Linked DNA regions of Homo sapiens: all the other regions are linked to region 3. The links are contacts of gene promoters, found by promoter capture Hi-C in blood cells and fetal thymus (Javierre and others, 2016). All regions are on one chromosome and are shown on one strand. Each heading gives the region's core, a stretch centred on a gene start or on the middle of the fragment in contact. The rest is flanking DNA. Distances are from core to core; before and after follow the strand shown. Region 1 overlaps CHD9 (chromodomain helicase DNA binding protein 9). Region 2 overlaps CHD9 (chromodomain helicase DNA binding protein 9). Region 3 holds the start of RPGRIP1L (RPGRIP1 like).

The links. The method cuts DNA at HindIII sites, captures the fragments that hold promoters and counts their contacts. A CHiCAGO score of 5 or more calls a contact.
Region 1: a fragment that was not itself captured here is called in contact with the fragment with the promoter of RPGRIP1L in region 3 in 4 of 17 cell types (total CD4 T cells, total CD8 T cells, naive CD8 T cells and 1 more); the score reaches 6.8 in total CD4 T cells.
Region 2: a fragment that was not itself captured here is called in contact with the fragment with the promoter of RPGRIP1L in region 3 in 5 of 17 cell types (activated CD4 T cells, naive CD8 T cells, total CD8 T cells and 2 more); the score reaches 8.3 in activated CD4 T cells.

Annotation. Positions count from the first base shown.
Region 1 is chr16:53,056,549-53,060,350 of GRCh38, reverse strand. The region is part of intron 1 of CHD9 (chromodomain helicase DNA binding protein 9); the gene reads right to left. Among named protein-coding and RNA genes, the nearest start is that of CHD9, 3.5 kb to the right of the region's middle. RefSeq lists an enhancer at 2,273-2,322. The HindIII fragment of the contact is 1,942 bases long and covers 391-2,332 here.
Region 2 is chr16:53,133,814-53,137,284 of GRCh38, reverse strand. All of the region lies in intron 1 of CHD9 (chromodomain helicase DNA binding protein 9), which reads right to left. Among named protein-coding and RNA genes, the nearest start is that of CHD9, 81 kb to the right of the region's middle. The HindIII fragment of the contact is 1,120 bases long and covers 1,499-2,618 here.
Region 3 is chr16:53,702,433-53,706,157 of GRCh38, reverse strand. It overlaps RPGRIP1L (RPGRIP1 like), which reads left to right and starts at 2,299. Exons shown (of 27, transcript NM_015272.5): 1 at 2,299-2,355. It overlaps FTO (FTO alpha-ketoglutarate dependent dioxygenase), which reads right to left and starts at 2,002. Exons shown (of 9, transcript NM_001080432.3): 1 at 1,929-2,002. The coding sequence starts at 1,973. RefSeq lists enhancers at 1,780-2,189, 1,804-2,304 and a silencer at 2,340-2,389. The HindIII fragment of the contact is 16,527 bases long and covers 1-3,725 here.

The DNA.
Region 1 (3,802 bases), core at 112-2,611, 640 kb after region 3:
TGAGCCACTGCACCCAACCTACCTAGTATCCTTCTGATCCTCAGGTCTCATTATTCGGGATCAGGAGTCAGCAAACTACAGCCCACAGGCCACATCCAGCCTACTGCCTGTTTTTGTATAGCCTGTGAGCTAAGAATGGTTTTTACATTATTTATTTGTTTGTTTGTTTGTAGAGATGGGGGTCTTGCTATGTTGCCCAGGCTGGTCTTGAACTCCTGGCCCCAAGCAATCCTCCCTCCTTGGTCTTCCAAAGTCCTGGGATCACAGATATGAGCCACCATGCCTGGCCAGCTTTTACATTTTTAAATGGTTGAAAAAAATGTTTAAAGAATAATATTTTGTGACACAGAAAAATTATGTGAAATTCAAAACTTCAGTGTCCATAAAGCTTTATTGGAACCCAGATATACTCATTTGTTTACATACCATCTACGGCTGCTTTTACTCTACAGTGGCAGTTTCTCATCAACATTACAAGAAACGACGTTACTTGGACTTACTGTACGTCATTTCGCTTAAAGTTGCAGTTTCTAAGAACCTAACGAGGACATTAATTGAGAATTTACTGCAGTTGCAACTGAAACCCTATGGTCCATAAAGCTCAAAATATTTACTCTCTGGACCTTTACAGAAAAAGTTTGCTGATGCCTGTTCACGGTCATTATCCTGCAGAGACAAGAGGCAGATTGAGGCCTGGCTGCCCCATGAGTGGGGAGGCCGATGCCCAGACCTAGTATTTGGGGGCAGTTTGAATCAGAACCTCACATTTCCTTTTGCCACATCTTTATGACCATGGTCATTACTCCCACCCTCTGCAAGTACCTAAGACTCTTTCACAGAGGAATTCATGTCTTTATACCAGTAATATTTTTTGACTAAATTTTTTTTCCATTTTTCTTGTTGTTAAAGATAGAGGTGGGGGTCTCACTATGTTGCCCAGGCTAGTCTTGAACTCTTGGCCTCAAGCATTCCTCCCACTTCTGCTTCCCAAAGTGCTGGGATTACAGGCATATGCCACTGTGCCCAGCCACCAGAAATATTTTTCTTTTTTAAAGGACATGAGAAATTTTCTTCTCCACACCCTGCCACTATCCCACGTGGTTTCATCGACGCTTGATCACTTTCACCACCACTTAGTTACTGATTTCTCCCCAGAACAAACCAAACCTCCAGCCCACGTCCTGAGATTTCTGATCAATACCCAAATGTTGGCCAGGTAAGGTAGATCATGCTTGTAATCTCAGTGCTTTGAGAGGCCAAGGCAGGAGAAACACTTGAGTCTAGGAGTTGGAGACCAGCCTAGGCAACACAGTAAGACCCTACTTAAAAAATTAGCTGGGCATGATGGTGTGCACCTGTAGCCCCAGCTACTTGGCTGGGTGGGAGGATCCCTCGAGCTCAGGAGGTTGAGGCTGCAGTAGCTATGATCATACCACTACAGGAGGCATGGGTGACAGAGCAAGACCCTGTGTCTTAAAAACAACAACAAAAGAAACCAAAAACCAACAAAACAAAACAAAACAAAAAACCCAAATGTCTGGTCAACATTAGATTAAGTTGGAGGGTGGGGGGTGTTGCTGCTTACCAGCAGTGCAACTTTGGGCAAGTCATTTAACAGCATGGAACGTCAATTTCATCATCTCTCAAAGGCGGAAATGATCCTGTCCAACCTGCCAGGATTACCGTGCTAATCGGATGAAATGAGAGCTGCCCACAAGACACTGAGCCGCCTGGCCCCAGCCTCTCTCCCTTTCACCACCACACTCCCTGCCCACTGGCTCTCCTTGAGTCCCCTGGCCTTGCCAAGCTCTTGGCTATCTCTGTACATGCTGACCTTTCTGCCAGAAACATCTTTTTCTAACCCCACCTTCTGCCTGGCAGATCAATGCATAACCTTTGTTTATGTGTGTTTCTGTTTAAAGATACCTTATAGGCCAGGTGCTGTGGCTTGAGCCTGTAATCCTAGCACTTTGGAGGCCAAAGTGGGTGATCACCTGAGGTCGGGAGCTCGAGACCAGCCTGGGCAACATGGTGAAACCTCGTCTCTACTAAAAATACAAAAATTAGCTGGGCGTGGTGGCATGTGCCTGTAGTACCAGCTACATGGGAGGCTGAGGCAGGAGAATCGCTTGAACTCCAGAGGTGGAGACTGCAGTGAGCTGACATCGTGCCACTGCACTCCAGCCTGGGAGACAGAGTGAGACTCCATCTCAAAAAAACAAAAACAAAGACAAAAGACACCTTATTTGATATATATTGTTGATATATATACATATTATTCATTAACACTGAACTCAGCCAACTGCACTATAACTCATGCCTGAACGAAGCTTACCTAACAGACAAGCTTTCTCTGTAAGGCACATCGCAGCCTTCTCATACTTAGGAACACTAGACAGCACGTCAACTGTACACTTGGGGCCATTTCAAACAGCGACATCACAAACAAAAACACACAAACATGCAAAAAATGTGGCACTAAGTACACCACAAAAGGGACACTTGTTTATAGCACAAGAGCTGAAACCAGAAAGCAGCGTGTCCTCCTGTTTGCCCTTGGCTGGAAATGTGCACGTTGGGTGACTCAACTTTTTCACTATTCTACGTGCATCCATATATGACTGTGAAAGTGTCATGGATATTGATTTGGAAGTTACGCAGACATTATTTTTCTTTTTTCTTTCTTTTTTTTTTTTGAGATGGAGTTTCGCTGTTGTTGCCCAGGCTGGAGTACAATGGCGTGATCTTGGCTCACTGCAACTTCCACCTCCCAGGTTCAAGCAATTCTCCTGCCTCAGCCTCCCAAGCAGCTGGGATTACGGGCTCTTGCCACCACGCCCAGCTAATTTTTTGAATTTTTAGTAGAGACGGGGTTTTGCCATGTTGGCCAGGCTGGTCTCGAACTCTTGACCTCAGGTATCCACCCACCTCGGCCTCCCAAAGTGCTGGGATTACAGGCATGAGCCACTGCACCCGGCCTTTTTTCCTCTTTTTTTTTTTAAATGAGCCAAGGTCTCTCTATGCTGTCCAGGCTGGTCTCAAACTCCTTAGCTCAAGTGATTAGGCTGGTGTCAAACTCCTAAATTCAAACTCCTAACCTCACACCTCAGTCTCCCAAAGTGCTGGGATTACAGGTGTGAGCCACCACACCCGGCCACAAACATATTTTTTTAAAAATTCTTTAATTATATAATTTTTAAAATAAAGATATAGGGTCTTACTGTGTTACCCAGGCTGATCTGGAACTCCTAGCCTCAAGTAATCTTTCTGCCTCAGCTTCCCAAAGTACTGGGATTATATGCATGAGCCACCATGCCTGGCCACAAACAAATTTTTTTTAAGAATTATTCAATGTGTATAATTTTTAAGCAAACAGGGCCTTGCTCTGTTGCACAGGCTGATCTGAAACTCCTAGCCTCAAGCGATCCTCCTGCCTCAGCCTCTCAAAGTGCTGGGATTACAGGGAAGAATTTGCAAATTTAGAACTTGTGAATAATGAGAATCTACTGCACTTTCTTCCTGTTTCTCTCATTCGGGGCTGGCTGAATTCTGTCTTACTCATATTTTATCTCTAGCATCTGGAAAACTGCCTGGCCCACAGTAGGCTCTCAATAATAAATGTATTTCCAATGAGCGAATGAGTCAATTCAGTGGAAGTGCTCAGCTCACAGCAGTGATAGCTAGTGTTTGTGAAGACACACCACGCGCCTGCCCCGTGCACGCTGTCCTGGTCAACAAGGGAAACAGCAGAGTATTGTTCTTTTGCACCTGAGCTCAAGAGCAGACTGCCTGGGTTCAAATA
Region 2 (3,471 bases), core at 809-3,308, 570 kb after region 3:
AAAATACAGATTAGGCCAGGCACGGTGGCTCACACCTGTAATCCCAACACTTTGGGAGGCCGAGGCGGGCAGGTCAGGAGGTCAAGAGATCGAGACCATCCTGGCCAACATGGTGAAACCCCGTCTCTACTAAAAATACAAAAATTAGCTGGGCGTGGTGGCAGGTGCTTGTAAGCCCAGCTACTTGGGAGGCTAAGGCAGGAGAATCACTTGAACCTGGGAAGTGGAGGTTGCAGTGAGCCGAGATTGCACCACTGCACTCCAGCCTGGCGACAGAGCAAGACTCTGTCTCAAAAAAAAAAAGAAAAACACAGATTAGTCTCACAAAAATAATGTTACTCGAGGAACACTTATTATATGATTTCATTTAATAAAGTTCAAAAATAGGCAGACCTAATCTATGGTTTTTAGACATCAAGATAATGGTCACCCTATTATCTTGGGAATACAGAATACAGAAAGGGAATAACTAGAAAAGAATATAAGGAAAGCTTTCAGGGTGCCAATAACAATACTGATTTCAATAAACACTCACCAAAGCAGAATAAGTGTGTTCATATATTGGAATATGTAGTGAATTCACTAAATTATGAAACCCATGAAATAAAGCATTCCCTAATATTAGAAACCCCGGGCAACTCAGTTTCTCTGTACCTCCGTTGCTTCAACTGTAAAACAGACTACACCAAGTCTGTAATCTTAAATTCCTAGATTTTTTTTTTTTTTTTAGGAAAAGGTACTCAGTTCCTTAAATGGAAGAAAAAAATTTTAGTGACTATTTGATTGCCATTTTAAAGATAAACATTGCAAAGACAGAATCAAAAAATATCATTTTTTCCTTCCTCTTACAAAGGAACAAGATACATCAGCAGTTATCTTTCAGAACCATAGTTACTGATTTCCAATAGAATAAAATTGAATATTCTTTATACTGCTACTGATTAGTAAGTAAACTAATATGAAAAGACCACTAGACAAGAAAGGTCATCTTTTTTCTGGTTTCAAACTATGTCCCTTTATAGCAATAACAATGTTTAAAATTACTAGTTTTAAAATGTTTTGAAATATAGTAAAAATCAAACAAAAACCAAACTTAATATTTGCTTGGTTAACTTCATAATGCCAAATTGTAACAGAAACATCAGTATCTGACAGCTATTTTAGAAATAATAGCTAGTAATGACTGAACTATAACTTCTACTTATAAGCACCATTAAATGAGAAGCCTCATTAAAAATTATAAATTATCAGGCTCCCTTACAAGCTAATAACTGAAAAGAATGCTACTCTCCTGAGAATATCAAGATTATAAAACTTTTGTATTCTGCACCATCACCCAATACTATATATATCCATTCAATATTATATTGATTTATTTCTCTCAAATTTTCATATTTAATATAATCCATTATGAAAATATTCAAATAAACTTTCAAAAACTGAAGTGCATTGTTAAAAAAGATCATTTCACCAGTTTTTCTAACATAAATATGAAGCTTGCTTCTTCCTCTCAAATAACACAATATGAATATGTCATTGTATGGTATCACACTTCTAGCTAAACCTATTCTAAGGCGCTTATCATTCAGATAAAGGTAGACTTCTTCTGAAGCACTTGTCCAGGGATGGTGTTCAAAACTTGTTTTCTTGCCAAATCTTTCCTTTCCCTCATCTTCTTCATCTCAGTAAATCACACACCACTATCTATCTAGTTTCTCAAGCCAGGAACCAGGAAATCATTTTTGACACTTTTCTTCTCACATCCAATCCATCATGAATCTGTCAGTTGTTCCTCCTCCACACCTCACCATCTCCTCTCTAAAATATATGTATAATCTGGCTACCATCATGTTTTTCCTGGACTACTGTAGTATTACAATATCTTTACTTTCACCCTTGCCTTTCTCCAATCCATTCTCAAAGTAGCATTTTTAAAATGTAGATTAAAGCGTATCACTTCTCTAATTCAAAATCTTCAACGACTGCAATGTCTTTAGTAAAACCTGTAAGTCTTTAATATGCCCCACAAGGCCCTGTATAATCTGCTTTCTATCTCTCATTTCAGCTCATATGGTTTTCTGCCTTATTATGCTTCTGCCATCCTGAACTTTTCATTTCTTTCAAATATTAAGTTCTTTCCTGTGTCATAGCCTTCAAACATATTTTTCTCTCTTCCAAGAAACTCTTTTCTCTCCTGACCTGTCTTCTTATTCTGTTTCCACTTAGAATCACCAACTGAGGGAAGCCTTCTCTGAGAATACAACATTAATTTCTCCCCATTTTCTCCACCATAGCACTCTGTTCTTTTATTTCACTGAACTGATCATAAGTTGTAATTTTCCATTTGTTTATTTACTTGTTCTTTATCTGTTTGCACTGTTAGATGGTAGGTTCCATGAAGGCAGGGATCACTTATTATGCACTTAATACATATATCATAAATTAAGGGAGCACTTCATAATATATACATTTAATGAATAAATGGATGTGAATGACTTTGAGTCCAGAGAATAAATTACAGTTCAAAGTGGTTTCCCCTTCTTTGGGTCTCCCATTGTCACTTGATCAGCTTTCCAACTGTTTCTAAAAGAAAGGAATAAAAATTGTTTCTGAAAGCTTAAAGACAATACAGTAGAGGAAATGTCAGGAAGTTGTACATGGTATGCCAAATAAGTGCAACAAATAATTATACTAAGATCTCATGGGAAGGAGAAATCCCTAAGGGCTACAAGGACAAGATACGATTTTATTCACAAGGTGGAATTTGACCTGAGTATTCACAGACTGGTAAAATTCCAAGAGGTGGAAAAGTAAGGGAGTGAAGCCCAAATAAGGAAGTAAACAGAGGCACAAAGTGCTAGGGAACAGTTATAAAACTGGAATGTGGCACTTTAAATTTACAACGTAAATAAGTGTAAAAAAGCTAAATCTTATATAAGAAATCTATATCCCACGTTAAGACAACTTCAAAGAATTTGAAAGGTTAAAATAACTCTATCTCATCAGTATCCATAAATCTCTTCTGACTCCAATCTTTGGCTTCTGAAGTTTTCCAAGCACTTACAACATGCTTCCATTAGTTTTTACTCTGACCAACTGCCTCAAGTTTCCATATTCTTACCTGTGTTTTTTATTCACTCATTACCCGATGAAATTTCCCCAGTAGATTAATTCATAGTTTTTCTTTATAGACTCTCTAGGATTTCATTTTTCTTCTCTGTTATTTACGGAGGTAAGCTTTTTTTTCTATGACATTTCGATCAATAAACACATCTTTAGAAAATCTTAACTTTTCATATGTACCAAAATTTTGTTTTACTATTGATAGATGCAATAGATTTTACTTTAAAATCTGTATTTCTACTTCAGTTCTTGCCTCTTATATTCATATATCGAGCCCCTCCTTCAGCTCTATCCTGTTTCCAGAGGTAAACCAGGAAGGTCTAGCACAGTGCCTTGTAGAAAGCATTC
Region 3 (3,725 bases), core at 1,050-3,549:
GCCAATTTTTTAAAGAAAAAAGGAAGACAATTTGCTCTACTAATTCAACATGTTTCACAAGCAGAAAATGGGAAAAGCCTTGAATTTGGAGTCAGAAGACCTGGCTCAGAGCACTAGTTTCACCTAGCAACCAAGTGGCCTTGGGCAAGTCACGATTTACCTACAAGTCTCAGTTTCTAAATCTCTAAAATATGGATGACACTAGTAACTCCCTCACAGGCAATGGTTATGGTTTCAATAGAGTAAGAGCTTCTTTGGTGCAGTGATTCTATTTCAGCCAAAATTATAATCCCAACTTATGGCAAATAATAGGTGCTCAACAAATCTTCACAGAATAAATGAAATACTTTAAAAATAAACCTGAAAGATGAGAAAGACATCATGCACAACACCATGAGGTGACATTTGTTTCTTTGCACTGTGTAGACTAAAGCAGAAGGGTCGCCCTCTTTGTGCTTATCTTTAATATATTATCCACATCATATGCAGACTCAAGCATGAAAACTTCTGGTCCCTTACGAAATACTGCAATAACTCAGGTCAATATAGAGCAGATTTTATATTTTAAATCCTTAGGTGTATTGCCCTAAACAGACTCACGTGTAAGATGAAATTCTATGAAAGCAAGAACTGTGTCTACGTTATTTAACACTGTTATTCACTGCCAATATTTGCCTAACATAGAGTAGGCAGCAAATGACATGTGCAAAGGCCCTGAAGCCCGATAAAGTATAGTGAAGAGTGACTTTTAAGAAGGCCAAAGTGACTGGTAGGCAGAGAGCAGAGTGTCATATCCAATGGGGTTGTGAAAGCAGGTAGGGTCCAGATCATGCAGGATCTTGTAGGCAATGTGAAGTTTTGCCTTTATCCTAAGAGCAACAGAAAGCCATGGAATATTTTTAAACAGGTGGTTGGCAGAGTAAGGAGAAAGGAAAGGGACATAATTATATTTGCATTTCACGAAGATCTTACTCTATGGTGTGCAGAAGAGAATGGTAGTTGAGGGAAGGGAGAGAAGGTGGAAGAAGAGTTAAGTTAGGGTGTAGAGTGAGTGTAGGCCAATCAATAGGCTATTCCAACAGTCTATTAAAAAGATAATGGTAGCTTGGTCCAAGGTAGTGGAGATGAAAAAAAAAAAAAGTGGGCATATTCCCAATATACGTAGACAAATCAACAGGATCTGAGTTTGGGAATGAGAGAAAGGAAAACACTCAATGCTTCTGAGCCTCAGTTCTTCATCTGTGAAGCTGGGCTGTTATTTATACTCCATCTGTATAATATCTATCTTGCAATCTGCTGTGACAATGATATGAAATAATTTAAATATTATGCACTTAATACAGTGCCTGACCCACAATAAATGCTTTTTAAAATCTCTGTTGCCATTATTATGGTCATCCCATGGAATGGCAACTACCAGAAGCTGAACATCAAAGGTAGAGAGGAGCAATGTAGTTAAAGATTCATATCCACAGCGCTAAAAGACACAAACTGTTATCAGCCGGTCACGGAGACAATTGTTCCAAAGAAACACAGCTGACTGCACAGATATTTCATCTAAGCCGATCTCAGTCCTCAGAGACCATTATGAGAAAGCACAGCTGGTATGATCACAGTCATCTGAGAATCCGGTAAACTGAGGCACAGGGATGGCGACAAATTTAACCAAGGAATAGATGCAGAAGAAGGACAAGGAAATGGGTATCTTGCTTCTCATTTTTGAGCCGATCCAACAAGACTCGGCCTGCATCCTGAAGAGCACGAATTTGTAACATCCCCTCTAATATCTCCAGGTCCCTTGCTGACAAGGCCCTGTCATCCCTTAGTTTAACACCGCGCATCCGCTCGCCATCAAACCAAGCCCTTCCGGTTCCCTGATCCTTGCTCACAGCGCACGAAGATCTCCAGGCCCCGGGAGCCCGACATACCTTAGCTTCGCGCTCTCGTTCCTCGGCAGTCGGGGTGCGCTTCATGCTGCCACTAAAGCCGCCTTCGCCACCGCAAGCTGCGTAGATCCCTCGCCCTGGACCCCGCCTCCTGCATGTAGTTCTCTCAGCGTCCTGCTCCCGTCTGGAGCTATTCTCCCTCTGAGTAGAAAAAACTACAACTCCCAGGATGCACCGCGGCGACACCCGCGAGCGCCACGGGATTTAGCACAGGAGAATTTCCCAGGTCCGACAGCTGGAAGAGCGTAGTCCGCTACCCCGCGAGCAAACAGGCTAGAGTCCAAGGAGAACTACATTTCCCAGGAGGCTACGGGAGCCTGCCATGTTTCTCCCGTGCTCCTCTCGGCCAGCCGCCCGCCACGCTGTCGGCGCTATAGCAACGGTAGCTAGCTGCAGGGCCAGTGGCACGGTGAGTACCCGGGAGGATGGGGGAGGATGAGGGTGGGTGGAGGTTGCTGACCCTCCCCACTGCAGCGCGGGCCGGGGTCCTAGGGTCCGCTCTGCCGCCTGGAGAAGGCCCTGGAGTTGGCCCTGGAGTTCTGCTGGCGTGAAAGCAGCCCAGCCCAAGACACCTCCACATCCTCAGGCCTGAATCACAGGCCGCCCTTTATCCCCACGTCCAGGACCAATTTGAAATGTTATATCCCAGCCATGAAGGTGAGAGTTGATGCTGCTAATTGCCATCTCTATCCAGATCCTGCAAGTTGTAGGTCCCTAACACAGTTTGCTCATTTGCCCTGGATTAGGAGTTGGTTGGTAGACCCTAAACCTCCTGAGTGGTCTATTGTTTGCTTAATTATATATTATTTGTTTATCATGTGATTACCTCCATAACTTGCTAGCTTCATAAAGGCGGGGGTTTTGCTTGCCATTTTAATCTCAGTACCTGATATTCATTTATTCATTCAATAAATATTTTTTCTTTATTCTTTTTTTTGTGTGTGTGACAGGTTCTTGCTCCGTTGCCCAGGCTGGAGTGCAGTGGTAAGACCTCAGCTTACTGCAAACTCCTCCTCCCAGGTTCAAGCGATTCTTCTGCCTCAGCCTCCCGAGTAGCTGGGATTACAGGCGTGTGCCACCACACCCAGCTAATTTTTGTATTTTTAGTAGAGACAGGGTTTCATCATGTTGGCCAGGCTGGTCTCGAACTCCTGGCCTGAAGTCAGCCGCCCGTCTCGGCCTCGCAAAGTGCTGGGATTACAGGTGTGAGCCACCACGCACAGCCAATCATTCAATAAATATTAATGTTGGTTCCCACCCTGTACCAGGCACTGTTCCTGAACAGTTGTGAACAAGACTAATACCCGTCTCAAGATGTTTATCCTTTTTTAGTGGAGACAAACAATAATTTTATCTGATAACTTCAGATAGAGGCAGTTGCTATAAGAGATACAAGCCATGCTTGGTGGCACGCACATGTAGTTCCAGCTACTCGGGAGGCTGAGGTGGGAGGATCACTTGAACCCATGAATTCAAGGCCAGCCCGGGCAACATAGCAAGACCCTGTCTCAAAAAAAAAAAAAAGAAAAGAAAAGAAATAAACAGTGAAGAAATGTAAGGAAGACTACTCTAACATAGGATGGTCAGGGAAAACCTGTCTGAGGAAGTGAACTGAGCTCCAAAGATTAAGGAACCAGCTAATACAAAGGCCTTGAGCAAGACAAGGGTATGGGGGGTTCGAGGAAAGTAAAGAATAATGTAAGTGAAGCATAGTGAGCAAAGAAGGATAACATAAGATGGTGTTGGAGAGGCATTGCAGCATTGTGCAGGGTTTTTCAG